Linked DNA regions of Homo sapiens: all the other regions are linked to region 1. Evidence: promoter capture Hi-C in 16 types of primary human blood cells and fetal thymus (Javierre and others, 2016). All regions are on one chromosome and are shown on one strand. Each heading gives the region's core, a stretch centred on a gene start or on the middle of the fragment in contact. The rest is flanking DNA. Distances are from core to core; before and after follow the strand shown. Region 1 holds the start of KCNF1 (potassium voltage-gated channel modifier subfamily F member 1). Region 2 has its middle 7.4 kb from the start of GREB1. Region 3 overlaps GREB1 (growth regulating estrogen receptor binding 1). Region 4 overlaps GREB1 (growth regulating estrogen receptor binding 1).

The links. The method cuts DNA at HindIII sites, captures the fragments that hold promoters and counts their contacts. A CHiCAGO score of 5 or more calls a contact.
Region 2: a fragment that was not itself captured here is called in contact with the fragment with the promoter of KCNF1 in region 1 in 1 of 17 cell types (erythroblasts); the score reaches 5.0 in erythroblasts.
Region 3: a fragment that was not itself captured here is called in contact with the fragment with the promoter of KCNF1 in region 1 in 2 of 17 cell types (erythroblasts and endothelial precursors); the score reaches 6.4 in erythroblasts.
Region 4: a contact is called between a fragment that was not itself captured here and the fragment with the promoter of KCNF1 in region 1, in 1 of 17 cell types (erythroblasts). The highest score is 5.2, in erythroblasts.

What each region holds. Positions count from the first base shown.
Region 1 is chr2:10,910,597-10,913,423 of GRCh38, reverse strand. It overlaps KCNF1 (potassium voltage-gated channel modifier subfamily F member 1), which reads right to left and starts at 1,490. Exons shown (of 1, transcript NM_002236.5): 1 at 1-1,490. The coding sequence starts at 997. The HindIII fragment of the contact is 10,094 bases long and covers 1-2,827 here.
Region 2 is chr2:11,525,203-11,528,072 of GRCh38, reverse strand. It overlaps a transcript of GREB1 not described here. Among named protein-coding and RNA genes, the nearest start is that of GREB1, 7.4 kb to the left of the region's middle. The HindIII fragment of the contact is 701 bases long and covers 1,119-1,819 here.
Region 3 is chr2:11,602,359-11,605,129 of GRCh38, reverse strand. It overlaps GREB1 (growth regulating estrogen receptor binding 1), which reads right to left. Exons shown (of 33, transcript NM_014668.4): 17 at 2,588-2,724. Among named protein-coding and RNA genes, the nearest start is that of MIR4429, 63 kb to the right of the region's middle. The HindIII fragment of the contact is 1,552 bases long and covers 734-2,285 here.
Region 4 is chr2:11,544,080-11,547,174 of GRCh38, reverse strand. The region is part of intron 1 of GREB1 (growth regulating estrogen receptor binding 1); the gene reads right to left. Among named protein-coding and RNA genes, the nearest start is that of MIR4429, 5.0 kb to the right of the region's middle. The HindIII fragment of the contact is 4,331 bases long and covers 1-3,095 here.

The DNA of each region.
Region 1 (2,827 bases), core at 241-2,740:
CTGCCAGGTACATGAGCAGCAGCCCCAGTTCCTTGAAGCTGCGCTTGAGGGCATAGGTGAGGGTCTGCAGGCCCGAGGAGTGGCGGGCCAGCTTGAAGATGCGCGCGATGCGCATGATCCGCAGCGCCTGCACGGCCTGCTGCACGTTGGTCAGCTCCATCATGCGGGCACCCAGGTGCGTGAGCGTGAGGCTCACGTAGAAGGGGAGGATGGCCAGCACGTCCACAATGTTCATGAAGGACAGCGCGAAGTGCAGCTTGTTGGGTGACGAGAAGAGGCGCAGCAGGTACTCCAGGGTGAACCAGCCAATGCACGCCGTCTCCACGTTCTCCAGCGTCGGGTGCTCCACGCGGTTGCCCTCGGCGTCCAGCACCTGCAGCTCGGGGATGGTGCCCATGCACATGACCACGGACGAGACGAGGATGAGCAGGAAGGAGAGCACGGCCACCACCCGCGCCGGGCACGACGACTCGGGCTTCTCCAGGAACTTCCAGACGCACTTCTGGCAGCGGCGCCAGCGGCCCTCGGCTGCGTCCACGCCCAGGTCGTCCAGGATGAGCTGCACGCGGCGCGCGATCTCCTCCAGCTCCTCGCGCTTCTCGCTCAGGTGGCTCTTGCAACAGTCGTCCAGGAACTTGAGGTCCACCTTCCAGAAGTCCATCTCGTTCTTGAAGCAGATGGGGCAGATGCCCTTCTTCATGTGGACCTCCCCGAAATAGTACACCTCGATGACACACTTGAAGGCGTCCGGGTCCCTGTCAAAGTAGAACTCGCGCTTGCCGGGGTCGTAGTCGTCGCACAGGGAGAAGATGGTGTCGTAGCCCCCAGCCAAGCAGTTGATGAGCTCCGCCAGCCGGGTCTCAGGGTACTGACTGAGGAGGTCCCCGTACAGCACCTGCCGCACGCCCCCCACGTTGACGACTATCTCTATGTCGTCGCTGGCAGCGGAGCTCTGGCTGCCCGGCTCCGGGAGGCTGCGCTCCCCGGACCCGTCCATCCTCCCCGCGCGCGCCCTCGCAGCCTCCGCCCCGCGCCCCCTGCAGCCGCCGCCGCCGCTGCCGCTGGGGGTCCGGCGGGTGCCACCCGTGCGCTGATCTCGGGGAGAGCCTGGCCGGCGCCCGCCTGCGGGGAAGGGCGGTCACAGCGGGCAGCAGCCTGCGGGGGCGCGCCGCGGGGGAGGCATGCACCCGGCGGCGGGGCTCGGGGCTGGCATCCGGGCGCCCGGGCGAGCCCGCGGGGGCTTTGGCGGCCGCCGGCCTCGCCCGGGGCACTCACCCCGGCTGGCTGGCGGCGCGCTCCGCCGCTTCAGCTCGGCCTCCTGCGGGAGCGGGGTCTCCTCGTGGGCGGCTGGCACCGTCCTCCGCCCCGGGGCGCGCAGGCAGCGGCGGCAGGTCCCGGAGCTGGCGGACCCACGCCGTCCGCGAGGTGCTCGAGGTGTGCAGAGAGCGAACTTGGGCTGGCTTTGCCCGAGCCTTTTCTAAACACAATAGGAATTCCAGCCTGACGTCAGGAGCTTTTCAAACTGTACCCTCTTCTGGTGAAATTCTGCAAGGCACGCGCGGCAGCTGCAGGGGACGGATTAACCCTTGGGCAGACGGGCACAGCTGCCGCGCCCGCCGCCACCACCGCGCACCGCCGGCCCCTCCTCGGGCGCAGCGGGTCACCGAGGGGTTGCGACCTGGCTTGAAGCGGCAGGCATTCTCTCTCACTGCTGTTTGGAGAGGATTAGTGGGGAGAGAATGCTGCCGCCTGTTGCTGGGCAGGAAAATGTGCTCCAGGAAGCCCCTTAGAAGGTGACTCCTATGTCTGGGTCCCTCCTCCGGCCTTAGACCCGCGCCGGCTTTTCCTGGTGGGAGGAAAATCCTGCCTGATCCTTGAAGCGTTTCCTGCCCCATCCCCCCGACCCAGCAATGCCCTGCTGTGTTGGTGGCACTGTCTCACCTTCCCCGCAACGCTGTACAAGGAGGACATCTAGTCCAGCCTCCTGTAGAAGGGAAGGGACTTGCCCAAGGTCACGCGGCGGAATGAGAGCAGAGCTCAGCTTGACCGCCTCCTGATCCCGAGCTTTCCGGCTGTCCCAGCTGACCGACGCCTGCTGTTCAGCAGATTTCAATTCTGCCTTGAAGTCCCTGCCGTCTGGCACCTCCTATCTCTCTGCAGTCCCACACCAAGGCCACTAGCTTCCAGACCCCTAGGGTCCAGTGGCTCCTGCTTCCCCGTTCCTCACTCCTTGACCAAGGCCTGTCTCTTCCTGACCAGTGTCCCACACCCTCCTCTCTTCCAGCCTTTGCAGCCACAGCTGTCCTTCTGTCCTCACTCACCTGAACCACTACAGCAGCTTCCTAACAGTGTCTCTCTCCTCCGGTTCACCACTATCATCAATACTGCAAATTACTGATATCATCTATGGCCTCGAGATCGTGTTAAAAATATTCTGGAGGGAAGAATGAATAGGCAGAGCAGAGGATTTTTAGGGCAGTGAAACGTACCATAATGGCGGATATGTGTCGTTATGCAATGGTCAAAATCCATAGAATGTTCACCACCAGGAGCGAATGTTAATGCAAACTCGGTGCTGGGCGATGATGACGTGTCCATGTGGGGTGGTCCACCATGACAAGTGTCCCACCCTGTGTGAGATGTTGATGCGCAGGGGAGAGCTGTGGAGACAGGGGGCATGTGGGAATTCTCTGTACTTTCTGTTGAATTGTGCTCTAAAATATAAAGTCTATTTAAAAATGTATTCTGTAGGCTGGGTTTTTTAAAACTTAAGGACATGTCCGTTAATGGATTATGAAATCAATTTACTGGGTCACTGACAGTATTC
Region 2 (2,870 bases), core at 220-2,719, 610 kb before region 1:
GGGTTTGGTGGAATTTGATTTTACAACCTGAGAAAGGCTGATTCTGAGATATTGTGTGTTTATTCTGCAGTTATTTGACTGTCAGTGCAGAAAGAAGAAAAGCCTTCAAAAAAGTTAAAGGGAAAGGAAATTAAGGGACTTAGGGATATTGATAGGTCTTAAAGCAGTTTGAGGATCTGTATCAGCAGAACAACAAATGTGGGGGACTTTGTTAGAATGCTTTTGGGATTAGGGTCAAGTGTGGCGCCCTCCCAGGCCTCCTGCACTTTTCCTTTGGAGCACCCGTCACACCAGCTCTTCATGCTTCAGTGTCTGTCTTCCCGTAGGACCCTGAACTACATGAGAGCTGAGTCCACATCTGTTTTACTATAGAATCTATGGAGCCTAGGCAGTGCCTGGCTGCCTCACTGAATAGCTCCTGGTTGAATGAATGAGTGCAGTCTTGCTATTTGGAGAGGCTGGCCTTCAGGAAAGACTGTCCAGGGGATGGGTTGTCCAGCCAATCCACCAGATGCCCAGGTCCCACTCTGGGACCAAGCTTCCCCACAAAGCATTTTTAGGCTGAGCAGCTCGGTCCCTCGTGAAGTTATCTTTCCAAAGTTGCACTGAAATGTTATTACCTTGGTTATTTTCTGAAACCATTACAGAAAACAGCCATATGGAATTGGCTTTGGCATTTCCTAACAAATTAAGTCCACTGTATCATTTATATGAGGTCCCACAACCAAAGTTACTTTGAGAATTTAATGCCATGAGAAAATATCTTTTCCCTTGAAGAAGTGACATGCCTCTTTCTTTCTAATAATATGACTAGTAGCACTTATCACTTCCCCATTTTTTTTGACCGCATGATAGCAATAGGTGCATTCAAAAAATAAGCAATGACTAATTTCAGGGAAAGCAAAAAACTATTCAGGACAAAAAACTAATAGTAGTACACTACATGGCTCTGCTGTCCAAGTGTTTACATGACTATAGTGATGTATACATTGAATTGGGCTATCTAAATCATAAATAACTGTAGTGGAAGGATGGAGGGCAGGATGTGGGTGTCTGTGTAGGGAGGATGAGGCATGTGTGAAAAAGAGCAACATCCTTATCTTCCATATTAGAAAGCTTAAGAATATTACCTAAAATTCAAAAATCAAGAAGTAGCAAAATATGTTATTTAGAAATATCAAGATAATTACCAAAAGAATCAGTTAAAAGGATTGAAGCCGGGAGCGGTGGCTCATGCCTATAATCTCAGCGCTTTGGGAGGCTGAGGTGGGTGGATCACTTGAGGTCAGGAGTTTGAAACCAGCCTGGCCAACATGGGGAAACTCCATTTCTACTAAAAAAATACAAAAATTGGCCAGTCGTGGTGGCCGGTGCCTATAATCCCAGCTGCTCGAGAGGCTGAGGCAGGAGAATCACTTGAACCTGGGAGGCAGAGGTTGCAGTGAGCCAAGATGGCGGCACTGCACTCCAGCCTGGGCAACAGGGTGAGACTCTCTCTCTAAAAAAAAAAAAAAAAGGATTTAAAGTTTTTGCCCCCAGAGAACAAGATATGGGAAGAAGGCATGAGTAGCTATAGAGAATAAGATCACAATTAGTACCGAATACATAATGTTATTTAATCTTCACTAAAATTCTTGTTTTACTAATGAGAAAACTAAGGCTTATAGATATTAAGTAACCAAGATCACATAACTAGTAAGTAGTTAAGCTGAGATTTTAATACAGCTTTACTGAAATCCAAAGCTCATAATCTTTCTACTACATTCTGCTCCTCTCTTATTCTCCTCTAAGAGGACTAGTGATATAAAGGAAGAAAGCTTAGAGCCACAGAGTCTCATGAAGTGCCGTATGATGTAAAAAAGAAAGAAATGTGGCAAAGATGAGTGCAGAAGAACGAAGGACAATGTTTAAGACCATTCATAAAACTAGGGCTCTATCCATAATTAACCTGCGTGAACTCAAGCCCTCTATGGATTTTTCTTGCACTAGAACAAGCTAAGTTAGCATTGATAAAAGAAAGCCTTTGATGAAACCCTCTCAAATGTCTGATGCTTCTATGCCAAGCTGAAATACGCCTTAGAAGCACCACCCACAGATGACAGCAGAGTTACTCTCCGGGCAAAGTTAAATTCAGAAGGCACTTGACTCCACGCAGCCCAAAGCTTTACAACAAAGGATCCATCAGGGCACGGCAGAGCATGGGGAAAGCAATGATGCTGAGAGTCCAGGCAGGAGGTGAGTTCACAGCAGGATGGAGCCGGGGCCAGGAGAATCTAGATGGGTCGTTCAGAACCAGGCATATGAAGTTCTGACTGCTGGAGCCCCGACCTCATGCTCCATCCTGCCAGGCTGGTCTGTCTCTGGGTAGGGCAGTCCTGGCCTGGAGAGTGGTGTCTTACACCCTGCAGTTAGTGCTTCCCTATCACCAAGAGTGGTAGAATTTCTGTGTGAGAATAGCCTCCCATGTCTTGGCCAACTGAGGCCCAAGTCAATCAACAGAGTAGGTCATTCCAAAAGGAAACAGGCAAAAGGAAAGAGAATATGACCTGAATGCCTTTTTTTTTTTTTTTTTTTTTGAGATGGAGTCTCCCTCTGTCACCCAGGCTGGAGTGCAGTGGTACAATTTCAGCTCATGGCAACCTCCACTTCCTAGGTTCAAGCGATCCTCCTGCCTCAGACTTCCAAGTAGCTGGGACTACAGGCACACACCCAGCTAATTTTTATATTTTTAGTAGAGATGGGGTTTCACCATGTTGGCCAGGTTGGTCTTGAACTCCTGACCTCAAGTGATCCACCCCCTTCGGCCTCCTGAAGTGCTGAGATTACAGGCGTGAGCCACCGTGCCCAGCCCGGATGCCATTTTAAAGGCC
Region 3 (2,771 bases), core at 260-2,759, 690 kb before region 1:
GCCCAGCTCCAGACAGTACCCCCAGGTCAGGCACAGAAATGTACCCTAGCTGTGGCTCAGCAGAGAACTATGCCCACCCTTAAGCCTCTGTGGTAGGTACTAAAGGAAAAAAGTTCCATAGACAATATATTAGAATAAAAATAGGAGTTGTCAAAGGTCTAGATCTTTTGTTTTTAAGTCACAGTAGGTTTGTGTCCAACTGACAGTCCTACAAGCAGTTTTCCCAGCCGTATGCTGGCGTTTATGGCACATAGAGGACTAACAGTCGGACCACACACATGGTGGCAAGAAGCAGTAACCCCATGTTCTAACCTTTATCTCCTTCTGTTCAAATTACCAGTTTCAAGAGAGTTCTCCAGACAAATGATTCCTAGTAAAGGCAGTGCGGTATGGTGGAAAGATGTCAAACCTGTCTGCAGTCCATGTTGCCACCAACAGGCTGCATGAAGTCGGGCAAATCACTCTCCCACTCGGCTTCAGTTCCCACAATTATAAAATGAGGTGGTTGGGCCAAATAATTCCTAGAAGTTCCTATGATTCTCCATACTTCAACAATCCAGGGTTTGAAATTCTCTTTTCACCCAGTGAGACATAAGATTTAATCTCTGCAACACTTCTAGTTTAGCAGAGGGGGAGAGAGAAGAGAGGATGATGATGGTGAATAGTGGTGGAGGTGGTGGTGCTAGCAGCCAACAGAAGCATGTAATGTGTGCCAGGCCCTGTTTCCAAAGCTTTAGGTGTATGAATCCATTTAATCCTTATAGTACCTCTATGATGTAGGTGTTATCATCCCCAAAGAAAATCGAGAAACTTTCTCAAAGTCTCACAGCTGGTTAACGGCAGATTCAGGATTCAAACCCAGGAAGGATGATTTTGGAGCCTGAGCTCTCAGCATGCAACTGTTACTGAATGTGCACACGTACATTAGCTCATGAAACTCTAAGAAGCCACCAGCAAGGTGGATTTCTACAGGTCAGGGTACAGAAGTTTAGACAGGTTAGATGATTTGCCAAGGTTAAAACTGATAGAGGGTAAACCAAGATGTATTGGCATGGTGGTCACAGCCCACCCTTTACTAGCTGTGAGACTTTGGTCAATGTGGCTTGGTGGCTACGTGGTTTTGGAGCCAAGCAAGCAGGGTTGGGGTCCAGTTTCACTATAAACCCCCCATGTGACTCTGGACAAGTAGCCTAACTTCTCTAAGTCTCAGTTTCTTCATCTGAAAAAGGGAGATAACAGTATTTCCTATCTCACTGTGTCACTGTGAGGATTATTTTAGGTAATAAATATAGAGTGCTGAGCCCAGTGTCTACAACATACTAAACACATCATGTGTGCTCACTGTCTGAGGAGAAGCAGAGGAAGGGCAAAGGCCGGTTTTCTTGCCTCAATGTGAAATCTTGGAGGGCTACTTCATGCAGCCAGTTGATGAGAGCTCAGCTGTCGATCCATGTGCTGGAGAACTGACCTGATTAATTTCTATCAGTATCACAGAACCGAACAGTATCTAAGAGATTTAGTTTCTGCAAGAGTGTTCTGGGAAATTCTAGTCCCACGAGCTACTGGACACATCTCTAGCCTTCTGGAGAATTACAGCATGCATGGATGTGCTGAAGGCTCCAAGAACTCTCATGGAAAAGAAGTCCTTTCCTTAAATGTTTCTCAGACACGTTTGACCATGGAACCCCTTTATGCTTAATAGCTATTAGTATCCAGCCAAAGCAGTATACCTTGGAACATAGCTTGAGAAGGATATGTCTAACTTCATCCCTTGGTCTGCAAATGAGAAGAATGAGGTTCAGTAAGAAAAGCGGGTAGAAACCAGCTCATGCTGACAATCAGTGGTATTTTGTTCAGTGGCATTTTGCTTTGCATTAGATCGTCTATAAAACTTGGCCTGGCTTTACCACGAATAAACCATGTGGTCCCTGGCAATCACTTAGCCTGTCTGAGCCTCAATTTCATCTATAAAATGAGGTCTGTTGCGACAGGGTTAAAGGGGCTGGCTGTGCAGTCAGATTGACTCTGGGTTCTCACCCAGTTCTGTCACTTGCTAGACACGTAGCCTGAGAAAGCTATGGGGCCTCTCCAAGCCTCAGCCTCTTCATTTGCAAAGTATGAATAACAGTAGCAAGTGGCTCAGAGAGGCAGTGAGGATCAAATCAGATAATGAAAGTAAAGTCCATGGAAGAGTGAACGGCACAAAATAAACATTCAATACATGATATGCATCGGAAATAAAAACAAAGCTGACTATGATCATCACTCCAGTTTCTTTTAAAGCTTTGTTATCTTCCTCCCATTTTCCTACCCTCCATTGGCTCAAAAACATAATTCCACATTCCAGCATATTTCCGCTCATTGTCATCTCTAAAATTTTCTAGAGCAACAGGATGACAAAGATATCGCTGACCCAAAGGGATTCAAATAGAGGAGAAGGAAAAAACCAGGGTACATTTAGTGGAGAAACTGAGTTGCTCAGGAAGGAAAGGCCTCCCTTCCTGGAATTCCCTGGCTGGCTAAACGCACCTCAACTTGCCCTTTAAGCTACTGAGCACTTCTAGTAACTTAGAAGAGAAACAAGTACCTTTTTCCTAATGCAGTGACCATGGCCTCAAAGGAGCTATCGTATCTGAGCAAGGGGAGGCTGTGTCCTGAAAGGGTGGATTCAATAAACTCCGACAGCCCGAAGTACTTCTTATTTTCATGATATAAGTCCACTCCCTAAAACAAAGAAGAGCGTCGGTCACTCCAACACTGCATTCGCAGGG
Region 4 (3,095 bases), core at 461-2,960, 630 kb before region 1:
GGTCAGGAGTTCGACATCGCCCTGGCCAACATGGTGAAACCCCATCTGTACTAAAAATACAAAACATAGCTGGGCGTGGTGGCACACCTGTAATCCCAGCTACTCGGGAGGCCGAGGCAGGAGAATCACTTGAGCCCAGGAGGCAGAGATTGCGTGAGCCGAGATTGCGCCATTGCAATCCAGCCTGGGCAACAGGGTGAGAAGCCATCTCAAAAAAAAAAAAAAAAAAAAGTTTAAACTAGCAGAATGTAAAATTCTCAGACATCCTCACTTTCAGAGTTATAAATCTGTATTATCATTACTTTCTGGTGCCATTTCTAGTAGTGACAAGACACTTCCTGATTTTATAGAAAGTTAAGGCATTCCTCTAAAGTTCTAAAGGACAGCACTAGAGACTTGGCCTAAGGAGACTAAGCCTGCATTCACACAAAAAGCGAGATGCGCTCCTGAGCAGAGCAGGGTTTTCATCATGCTGGGAGCCAAGAAAGTCCTGCAATTATTTCAAGAACAGGTTCTACCTATTCTCCCAGAACCACTTGAGAAAGTTTGTAAAGTCCCTATTACAGAGCTTGTATGTTACAACATTGTATTCCAAGTGAGCACATAAAAAATACCAAAACTTCAGTTTATAGCTCATCTACCTATTCACTTCAAGTATGTATGTATATATTTTATAAGGCAAATAATATATACTGTGGTCCATGCATGCATAAACCACATATAAGCATATAAAAACATGTGGTCCATGTTCTTATAAATCAGTAAGGACATATGTTGTATACATATATATGTGTGTATTTATTTACTGAAAGAGAGTATGAATGGAATAAGAAAACCAATATTTCTTTCCTGTATACTATGTGCCAGGAAATTTTCTTCCAACAGCTCAATGACAAAAGTATTATTGTCTTGGTTTTGCAGATGAAGGGAGGGGGCGTGGGAAGTAAAAGCATTCTTTGTCTTCACATCTTTGTTATTTTTTTTTATTTTTATTTTTTGAGACGGAATCTCGCTCTGTCACCCAGGCTTGAGTTCAGTGGCACGATCTCAGCTCACCGCAACCTCCACCTCCTGGGTTCAAACGATTCTCCTCCCTCAGCCTCCCGAGTAGCTGGGACTACAGACGTGCACCACTATGCCCGGCTAATTTTGTATTTTTAGTAGAGATGGGGTTTCTCCATGTTGGTCAGGCTGGTCTTGAACTCCCGACCTCAAGTGATCCACCCGCCTCAGCCTCCCAAAGTGCTGGGATTACGGGCGTGAGCCACCGCGCCCGGCTATCTTTGTTATTTTCTTTAGCGACACAAACCCCAAACATTTTAAGTATAATCAACAGCTGCTATCTGTCAGGATCACTCTGTGCAGAGATTTTTCTTGCTTTCCATTTGTAACCTTACTTCATCTTCATCACAGTCCTAAAACTTAGGTAACGTGGTTCTCATTTTACACATTAGGAAATTGAGGCTGGGTGACATTCAAGTGACTTGTCCAAGGTCACACATTTGGAACAATTTTAGAATGTCCAATGATGGCCCTCAGTATGCTTTACTGAAAGCAAAGATTCATTGGAAAGATTAATCCCTTTTCCTTCAGAAAAGGATGCATTTTTTTTAAGTTGCTTTTTAAAAATGGTGTTCACTTGTCCAGCCATGCTCCAAACTTTGGGTTAGGAAAAGGATTGCCTTGGGTTCTTTTGTCATGGTGCTTTGCCAAAAGGGGAGCTGCCATAGAAAGTTGCTGATTGGCCGGGTGCAGTGGCTCATGCCTGTAGTCCCAGCACTTTGGGAGGCTGAGGCAGGTGGATCACCTGAGTCAGGAGATTCGAGACCAGCCTGGCCAACATGATGCAACCCGTCTCTGCTAAAATACAAAAATCAGCCAGGTGAGGTGGCGGGTGCCTGTAATCCTAGCTACTCGGAGGCTGAGGCAGGAGAATCGCTTGAACCTGGGAGGCGAAGGTTGCAGTGAGCGAGATCGTGCCATTGCCCTCCAGCCCGGGACACATTTTTTAGCCTCATCTAAAAAGACACATTTCTAGCCAGACAAAGAAAACCGAGAGCAGGCCGGGCCGGTGGCTCACACCTGTAATCCCAACACTTTGTGAGGCCGAGGCGAGTGGATCACCTGTGGTCAGGAGTTCGAGACCAGCCTGGCCAACATGGTGAAACCCTGTCTCTACCAAAAATACTAAAGTTAGCTGGGCATGGTGGCAGGCGCCTGTAATCCTCACTACTCGGGAGGCTGAGGCACAAGAATCGTTTGACCCCGGGAGGCAGAGGTTGCAGTGAGCTGAGAACGCACTACTGCACTCCAGCCTGGGTGACAGAGTGAGACTTTGTCTCAATTAAAAAAACACAAACAAACCCAAGAGCATTCTAAGAATGTGGCCTGCAGACCCATCTCCTGCGTGGAGGTGAGCAGGCAAACAGGGGGGCAGGACAGACAGGCGGCCAGCGTTGGCTCCTCCACCTGCACCCTCAGCACCATGGGCCCTTCCCTGGGGATGAGAGCAGGAGCCTTCTGGCTCCAGCCCATTCCAAGGAAAACATTCTTGCCCTGGCCTCTCCTTAGAGCGACCCCTCCCCTCCTCTTCCCTCCTTAGAATAGAACAGCCAAAAGTTTGCCCACAGGTGAAAAATGGATTTCTCTTAAAAGGCTCGGCCGGGCGCAGTGGCTCACGGCTGTAATCCCAGCACTTTGGGAGGCCGAGGTGGGCAGATCACAAAGTCAGGAGATCGAGACCATCCTGGCTAGCACGGTGAAACCCTGCCTCTACAAAAAATACAAAAAATTAGCCAGGCATGGTGGTGGGAGCCTGTAGTCCCAGCTACTCGGTATACTGAGGCAGGAGAATGGCGTGAACCTGGGAGGCGGAGCTTGCAGTGACCCGAGATCACACCACCGCACTCCAGCCTGGGCAACTTGAGCAAGACTTCATCTCAAAATAAACAAACAAACAAATAAATAAAAGGCTCTCAGACTAGAGGGGTTAAGCATCCAACTAAAATCGGGGTCTGAATGATTTTCCTACTCCTCTCTGAGGTCCCTTCACTCCACCTGTTACCAATCATGCAATGAGGCACCTCTGTCTAAAT